3 separate regions of the Homo sapiens genome follow, and all the other regions are linked to region 1. Evidence: promoter capture Hi-C in 16 types of primary human blood cells and fetal thymus (Javierre and others, 2016). All regions are on one chromosome and are shown on one strand. Each heading gives the region's core, a stretch centred on a gene start or on the middle of the fragment in contact. The rest is flanking DNA. Distances are from core to core; before and after follow the strand shown. Region 1 holds the start of ERGIC2 (ERGIC and golgi 2). Region 2 has its middle 7.6 kb from the start of YARS2. Region 3 has its middle 7.7 kb from the start of DNM1L.

Region 1 (2,879 bases), core at 132-2,631:
GAAACTATTAAATAGGATTTTTAGCAGGCACTGACTGCCTAAAAGTAACTTCTGGTAAAGAAAAAAAAAATAGCCATTTCTTTCACTTAAATCATCAATCCCCAAAGAAAGAAAATGTGTGGGTGGTTGTTGTTGTTTCCCTAACTCTCGTTGTTCCAGACTAGGCCTGATTTCCTTTGAGAGATCTTTCAAACTTGATATATTTTTATGATTTGTACCAGGAAGCCATTATAACACGCAACTGTATACTAAAGTTCACCATCATTTAAAAAAAAAAAAAAAATCCTCCTCTCTCTATCCATCCCTGCACCGCCAACCCCCACCCTCCCAAAAAATCAGAATTTTTTTCCTCATGTTTTCCACTAGAACTGGCATAATTACAACAACTTAAAGATATCAACAAACAAATTAGGTAAATAACCATGTCTTTTTTCAGTGAACAAGCCAGGCTCATTCTTTATAATTGCTGTATACTGGAGTCCAATGTATCAGGCTAGGCAATTAACTGAAATACTGAATTACAACTTCAAATGAATAAATCCTGTTTTTAACTGTAACTTTCATTGCTTCTGAAAACCAGTCTGGCAACATTTTAACAGCTATTATGCCACTTTGTCTTTAAGTCTCGGGGGCACTAAAATATAAAAGTTATTTAAACGTGTTTTCTCAAACAATGACCTGTCAACTCTATATACTACAGATAAACAAGGCTATTCTCCACCACGAGTTGACACGTTGCCTTCGGAAGGTTTCCTGCGCCGAGGAAAAGTAGTGACAGTCGAACCTGTCTCTCAGCATCTCGCCCTCCCCCGCCCCCTTCTCATTTTCCGAAGCACTGTGCGAAACTCCTTCCGGGCAAGGCCAAGACTCTTAAAGAGACAGAGGGCAACGTGCTGCCACGAATGTGGCATTTGTCTGAATGGGGGTAGGGAGTCTGACATCCGGGAGGACTGGGACTCGACCGATTGGGATCCTACTCGCCTGCGGACTGGAGAAACCACCTGGGAACCGGGCACTGTGACAAGCAAAGGGTCAGAATCAGGTGCGATCGAGGAAGCACCTGAACTCCTTCGAGTTGCAGGATAGCACACAAGCACCCGGACCTGGCAAAGGGAAGCTCCCAGTAGCATCGTTGCCTAGGGTCCTGCCAGTAACGCCCCCGTGGGAGGTGGAGCGGCTTCTCCGTCCGACCGGCTCTCTAGAGATCAATGAAGACAGGAAGCCAAGCCCATGACAGGCTCCCAGTTCCCTCAATTGCATTTACGCCCTAAACAGCCCTGGAACAACCGAGGGAACAGCACCCAGCGGTGTTTCAGTATTTTACCTTGTGTTATGGTCCCAGCCTACCGCCATGTTTCACAGAAGCCCGGGTCGCCGGGGCTCCCGCGTACCCGGAAATATCGCGAGAACAAAAGCGACTATCACAGCTGAAAACGTCAGAAAAGAGACAATGTACAGATCTCGCGATATTCCCTTTGCTTACGACGTGCTTAGGGAATGAAGAGGCGTGGTTAAGATAAAAGAGGCGTGCCTACAGGGAAATGAGGTTGCAACTTGTTTTAGGTGTAATCGCGCCGCCAGTCCGGTTCTGTTTCTATGGGAAGGGAGGGGTTACTTTCCGACTAACACTGAGACTGCAGAACGAATCTCAGCTCCTCACACCGTATTTCATTACTAATAAGAGCCTTGGGCGCAGAAATTATCCCTAACAACCCTAATGCATATCACCTGTGCAATTGTTTTGTTTCCCTCTTTCAGTTTTTGTGTCGTTTTCCCCTGACAAGAACATTTGAGCTTCCTTTTCCGCCATAGGTAACGCTTTTTATTATTTGATCAGCGTTTTTATTGTCTTCCAGGTTTTAATATCATAAGAAAGCACATATGTCTTCCTCATCTCCCTTCGCCAACACCAACTATGCCTTCAAATATTTGTTAAGAAAGAAAATTAATACCTCATCTTTTTCTACCACTTCATAGAACAGGAGTTAATAGACGGAACTTCGGAAAGAAAAGTTAAATGTGAACTCCTGGAGAGTAAACCCATTCCAGGTTCCTTTTCACCCATCTGTTACCAGATTTTATAATCAAACATTGAGATTTAAATTTTCTGATTCATTGACCTAGAAGTCTAACAACGGCATAATTATGACAACTGCTTATAATTACTGTTTAAAGGCTTTAACTGCTTTTTTAAAAAATCTGCGTATCCTCACAACACTCTTAGAAGATAATACCAGTATTTACCTGTTTTATAAATACGGAATTTGAGTCAAGGGGTAGTGAAGTGATTTACCCAAATTCAGACCGCTGGGAGAGTCAGGGAAATCTTGATCACAATACTAAACTGTGCCTCAAAGGAAAAAAATCACATTGTTTTATGTAGTGAATTAACCTTTACTGAAATACTAAATTTCACTAAATTGAATATCCCCCAAAATAAGGACTGATGAAAAGTTTCCAATGAATCAATTTTATTTTCAGACTTTCAGAGTTAGTCTAATTAAATCAATTTAAAGTTCTCACTTTCTTGACATGCTTAAGAAGTATAGTGTAGTGGGTGAAATCATAGACACTGGAGACAGGACTTCCTGGGTTAGAATTCCAGATCAGCAACTTACTAGCATGTAACCTTGACCACATTATTTCATCTCTTTGTGTCTCCATTTGCTCATCTGTAAAATGGGCATGATAATATCTCAGAGTTGTTACGAGGATTAAGTAAATTAATATACATCTAAAATGCCTTTTTTTAATCTTTGCCGTAAAGGCATCAGCAACTCTTCCTTCTTTGTGAATATGGGCTCTTGCTTGGATGGAGGCTGGCTGTTGTTCACTTAGTTACATCTGATCCCTCATCTCCTGGATAACCTACTTTCAGG
Region 2 (2,879 bases), core at 171-2,670, 3.4 Mb after region 1:
TGTAGAGTAGAATTCAAACAGCTTTTCCCCTTTCAATATGTAATTGTGTCTCCCTTCACTCCTGCTGCAGTGAATTTTTCTCCTCGCAGAACCCTTTCCCCAACATCCACCCCTTCTGCTCTGAGCTTGGTGATAGCCGCCGCAGTCCCCTACCAGCATGTTCTTTCCCAGGCCATGTTGTCGGGACTGTAATTCAGCCATGACTGGCAAGCAACGAATCCGCCTGGCTGTTTGCTAATGTGATGAGAAAAGCAGGCTTCCCTCTTAGAAAGAGGATCTTGGAGACACTATTGTGATTGCATCTGAAAAGCTTAGATCAAATGGATAATGTCTTCAGTGAAGATCATTTTGGAATTTTCCTATTTATCAAGTTACCTTAGTAATTTTCTGGTCTCTCTGACAGAGTAGAAGTGAATCAATCAACTCATCATTGTCCCTCCATCAAGGCCAAGTGAATTTATATCTCCATTGGAGAAGAAACAAAACAATAAGCAATCATTCTATGTTTTGTAGAGCAATTCTATTTTGATTAAAACTATTTTTGTCTTTTTTTCTCAGTGTCTTCAATACGGACTTTATGTTTTTCTGTTATAAGCACTGACTGGTTAGTTACCAAAATGAGAAATAAGTCTGGAAACATCTCACTCATTAATGTTCTGTAACATCATAAGGGGAACAAATACCTTGTATTTACATAATGTTTGCAGAAAAGTCAAATATTACTTCCTTCATCCTCACAACCATAACAAAATGTGCTTCTGAGTCGTGGTCCAAAGACCATGGGACTAGGAGTCACAGACATGAGTAGCTATCTCAGCTTAACCTTGACTACCTGTTCCTCCTTAGATAAGTCATTTAACACACTAGCCTTGGTGTCCTCATTTTAGAAGTAAATGGGCTGGGCTTGGCGCGGTGGCTCATGCCTGTAATCCCAGCATTTTGGGAGGCCGAGGCAGGCAAATCACGACGTGGTCAGGAGATCGAGACCATCCTGGCTAACACGGTGAAACCCTGTCTCTACTAACAATACAAAAAATTAGCCAGGCATGGTGGCCGGCACCTGTAGTCCCAGCTACTTGGGAGGCTGAGGCAGGAGAATCACTTGAACCTGGGAGGCAGAGATTGCAGCAAGCTGAGATCTCGCCACTGCACTCCAGCCTGAGCGACAGAGCAAGACTCCATTTCAGAAAAAAAAGAAAAGAAAAGAAAAAAAAAAGTAAATGGGCTGGATTAGATGAATTCTAAAATCTCATTCACCTCTACAATTCTGAAATGCCTGTTTGCTATCACAGTAGTCAAAAGTCCCATTTATTGTTTCTCAGCTTTAACTTCATTATTTAAGCCACCACACCAGGGAGGAGGTTAAAAATGTATTCATCGGCCAGGCACAGTGGCCCATGCCTGCAATCCCAGCACTTTGGGAGGCCAAGATGGCGGATCACTTGAGGTCAGGAGTTTGAGACCAGCCTGGCCAACATGGTGAAACCCTATCTCTACTAAAATACAAAAAATAATTAGCCGGGCATGGTGATGGGCGCCCATAATCTCAGCTACTTGAGAGGCTGAGGCAGGAGAATCCCTTGAACCTGGGAGGTGGACGTTGCAGTGAGCAGAGATCATGCCTCTGCACTCCAGCCTGGGTGACAAAGTGAGACTCCCTCTCAAAGAAAAAAACAAACAAACAAAAAAAAGCCTGGGCGCAGTGGCTCACGCCTGTAATCCCAGCACTTTGGGAGGCTGAGGCAGGCAGATCACTTGAGGTTGGGAGTTCGAGACCGCCTGACCAACATGGTGAAACCCCATCTCTACCAAAAAATACAAAAAATTAGCTGGGCATGGTGGCACACACCTGTAGTCCCAGCTACTTGGGAGGCTGAGGCAGGAGAATTGCTTGAACCCAGGAGGCGGAGGTTGCAGTGAGCCGACATCATGCCACTGCACTCCAGCCTGGTGACGGAACAAGACTCTATTACAAAATAAATAAATAAATACATCTATTTTCTCCTCTACTGAGGTTTGCTTAAGCAGTAGAAGCCAGTTTAAGTCATGCTTACATGGCTGTTATTAGAGGGAAACTGTATTATGACAAGTTTTGAAAAATTAAGATTGAAGATTTAGAAAGTGATAGTTGACCAATGAAACATATATCATATTTGCAGAAAGATCCAGTGAAAATCCAAGCAGCTTTGCTCAGATCCAAACAGTTTCAATTGCCATTGATCTCATTCAAAGCTGCCCGTGGGTGGGAGACCGACCTGGAAGGGTGTCACTAACAGAGATAGCAAATGAAAACAACTCCTCTGTATTCTCATAGCTATTTTTTTCTAAAACCAAAGGAAATCTTAGACACCCATGCCCCTTCCCATTGTATGTCTCACGTAACTCTTCTCCAAGCACAGTTTAAGGAGGTTCAGGGGAGTGGCAATCAGGGACACAATGGTGTCAGATGGTGACCAAATATCTAGCACATAGCACCAACTGAGACACCTTTCCAATGGACTTGTAACATGATGTCACACTATATATTTGAGAAAGCTTCCAGTAAATAGGTGAATGTAGCCCTGGTTTATATGCCTCTTGTCTCAGCCTAATTATTTATATGACCCCTTTTATTCTCGAAAATGTCCTGTTTTGGGAATAAATTTTACAGACATTCTATCTAACATTTCTACTCTGGAAAACAAGTTAATTTTAAAAATGGGTATTTTTGAAACAGGGTCTTGCAATGTCCAGCCTGGAGGGCTGTGGCATGATCACGGCTCACTGCAGCCTCGACCTCCCAGGCTCAAGTGCTCCTCCCACTTCGGCCTGCTGAGTAGCTGAGAGCACAGGCATGTGCCACCATGCCTGGCTAATTTTTTTTTAAATTTATTTTTTGT
Region 3 (2,879 bases), core at 266-2,765, 3.3 Mb after region 1:
AGGAAGAACAGGAAAGTTGAGTTTGAGAACAAAAGACAAGGAAGTTAGTAGTCTAAATTTTTGAAGAGAAACTCAGAGAAATTCATTGTGTCTTACAGTAGGAACCAATCCTTGGGAACCTTGGTCTTGGACTTCTAGCTTCCAGAACTGTGAGACAATACATATCTGCTGTTCTAAACCAACCAGTCAGTGGTACTTTGTTACAGCAGCCCCAGGAAACAAATATATTCCACCACCAAGTTTATGCAGAAAGAGATTCATTCATTCATTTGACAGTCTTGCTCGGTTGCCCAGGCTGCAGTGCAGTGGTGCAATCTCGGCTCACTACAACCTCTGCCTCCTGGGTTCAAGCAATTGTCCCACCTCAGCCTCTCGAGTAGCTGGAGCTACAGCCGTGCAGCTCCATGCCCAGCTAATTTTTGTATTTTTAGTAGGGATGGGGTTTTGCCATGTTGCCAGGCTAGTCTCGAACTCCTGGCCTCAGTGATCTGCCTGTTTGGCCTCCCAAAGTGCTGGGATTACAGGCGTGAGCCACCACACCCGGCCCGAAAGATATTTAATATGGGAAATTAGATGCTTATAAATCTGTTAGAGTGCCTGGGAAAAACAGGTGTTAGCTAGACATCCAGGAATTACTTCCCGAACAATGTCACAAAATCAGTACACCAGAAGTTACTGTATATTTATCATAAGCGACAGCTGGCTCTCGGGATCTTTTTATCTCGACTGTTATCTGAGAATCAGGAAAATATCATCAGAACCATTAAGTCCAGAACCACGTCATGCTTCCCATGATCTTGCGTCCCAGAGTAGGTGTCCCTTTTGTTTGTCATAGTGTACTAGGGAGCCTTTAGATCTGCAAAGGTAGCAGCTAACCAAGGGCTAAAAGTGAAATTTCTCTTCACCATCAAATATGAGCAAATTGAGTTTGTGTGAGGGAGACAAAAAACAGAAAAACAGAGAAGGGAGATATGAAAAGCTTCTAAGAATGTCAAACAACATTTGAGAACCTGGAGTAGAGTTGTAAAGAGGCTAATGAGAAGGCTTGAGAAATGGGGCAAGTGAAGTAGTTTAAATGCAGGGATGTCTAACATATAATTTTCAGTTGTCACTGCTGTAATTTAAAATCACTATTGCTGGGCGTGGTGGCTCATGCCTGTAATCCCAGCACTTTCAGAGGCCAAGATGGGCGGATCACCTGAGGTCAGGAGTTTGAGGCCAGCCTGGCCAACATGGCAAAACCCTGTCTCTACTGAAAATACAGCCGGGCGCAGTGGCTCACACCTGTAATCCCAGCACTTTGGATGTCTAGCTAACACCTCAGGGCGGATCATCTGAGGTCAGGAGTTCGAGACCAGCCTGACCAACATGGAGAAACCCCGTTTCTACTAAAAAAATACAAAATTAGCCGGGCGTGGTGGTGCATACCTGTAATCCCAACTACTCGGGAGGCTGAGGCAGGAGAATCACTTGAACCCGGGAGGCAGAGGTTGCGGTGAGCTGAGATCATGCCATTGCACTCCAGCCTGGGCAACAAGAGCGAAACTCTGTCTTTCAAAAAAATAAATAAACAAAATACAAAAATTAGCTGGCGAGTGGCCCACGCCTATTGTAATCCCAGCTACTTGGGAGGCTGAGGTGGGAGAATCCCTTGAACCCAGGAGGCAGAGGTTGCAGTGAGCTGAGATTGTGCCACTGCACTCCAGCCTGGGCTACAGAGCGAGACTTGATCTCAAAAATAAATATATAAATATAAATAAAATAACTCTATTATCTCAAATAGTTTCTAAAATATGCCACAAATTTTGATGGTAGGAGGATAAAAAGAAGGGCTACGTTCTATTGGGGTGTGGGTGTGGAGCAAAGGGAAGAAATCAGGACCATATCTTAACTCCCAAGTTATTTTGTCGTTAACTGCTCTTAATTGTGTTGTCACACTGCCCTCTCATGGTCCCGTCAGTATCTCACCAGATTCAATTTCTGGCTTCTGAACCATCTGGCCAATTCCACCATCTGCAAACAATTTCCTGCACCTGCTAACAAAGTATGTGTTAAGCTTGAGGCCTGGGGAGTAGCAAATTGATTAAAGCTGTTTACTTTATCATCTTTGCAAAACACGGGCAGTTTCCAAAATATGACAAAGAGGCTTCCCCAACAGAGCTGTATATTTTATATTAACATTAGATCCCCACTAACCGCTATGATTTGAAGGTGCAGATACCGGCATCTTGGCTGTGATTGATGATCAAAATGTTGGCATAAAATGATATTGGACACATGCGATAAAAACAGTCTGACCTTTTCCAAGATCGATTAATTTCCAGTTATTAATTTAATCCAAAATAAACTTCCTCTAATTCGGGATTTTAAGTTAGAACAAAGCCAGGCTACTCCCTAGCTAAGTAACTTGGCATCTATTCTAATGAGGAGTCCTATGCCAAGCCAGACTCATATGTGTTGGTGAGATTTGATTGCCAGTCCTGGTTGCAATTATATCAATTCAGAGCTGCTTAAATCCTTGTTATTCCAGATTTTCCAAATAAAAAAGAAAAGAAAACCCCATATCCAGTAGACTAATATTATGTAACACGCTTCATACGAGGTAGTGGGGGAACCCAGCTAAATAAGATAATCACTTCTGCCCTTCGTGAGCTCACTATTGGTGAAGGGGGAGGGCATGTTAGTGCCATATCCACGGTTCCTCCCTACTCTCCAGCAAAATATACTGCCTGGCTAAGATCCGTATGCCTAACAAGTACTTCATCAATATGTGTTGAATTAATGAAGAAAGGAATAAATACACGAGGCAGAATGTGTAGCGGTTGAGAGTTTGCTGCCGGGCATGGTGGCTCACACCTGTAATCCCAGCACTTTGGGAG

Evidence for each region. Contacts are between HindIII fragments. The CHiCAGO score rates a contact against its expected background, and 5 or more counts as called.
Region 2: a fragment that was not itself captured here is called in contact with the fragment with the promoter of ERGIC2 in region 1 in 1 of 17 cell types (total B cells); the score reaches 8.1 in total B cells.
Region 3: a fragment that was not itself captured here is called in contact with the fragment with the promoter of ERGIC2 in region 1 in 2 of 17 cell types (naive CD8 T cells and non-activated CD4 T cells); the score reaches 5.3 in naive CD8 T cells.

Annotation. Positions count from the first base shown.
Region 1 is chr12:29,379,791-29,382,669 of GRCh38, forward strand. ERGIC2 (ERGIC and golgi 2) reads right to left here and starts at 1,382. Exons shown (of 14, transcript NM_016570.3): 1 at 1,325-1,382. RefSeq lists an enhancer at 945-1,114. The HindIII fragment of the contact is 7,270 bases long and covers 1-2,879 here.
Region 2 is chr12:32,762,064-32,764,942 of GRCh38, forward strand. No RefSeq gene overlaps it. Among named protein-coding and RNA genes, the nearest start is that of YARS2, 7.6 kb to the left of the region's middle. The HindIII fragment of the contact is 2,225 bases long and covers 309-2,533 here.
Region 3 is chr12:32,670,152-32,673,030 of GRCh38, forward strand. No RefSeq gene overlaps it. Among named protein-coding and RNA genes, the nearest start is that of DNM1L, 7.7 kb to the right of the region's middle. The HindIII fragment of the contact is 1,077 bases long and covers 978-2,054 here.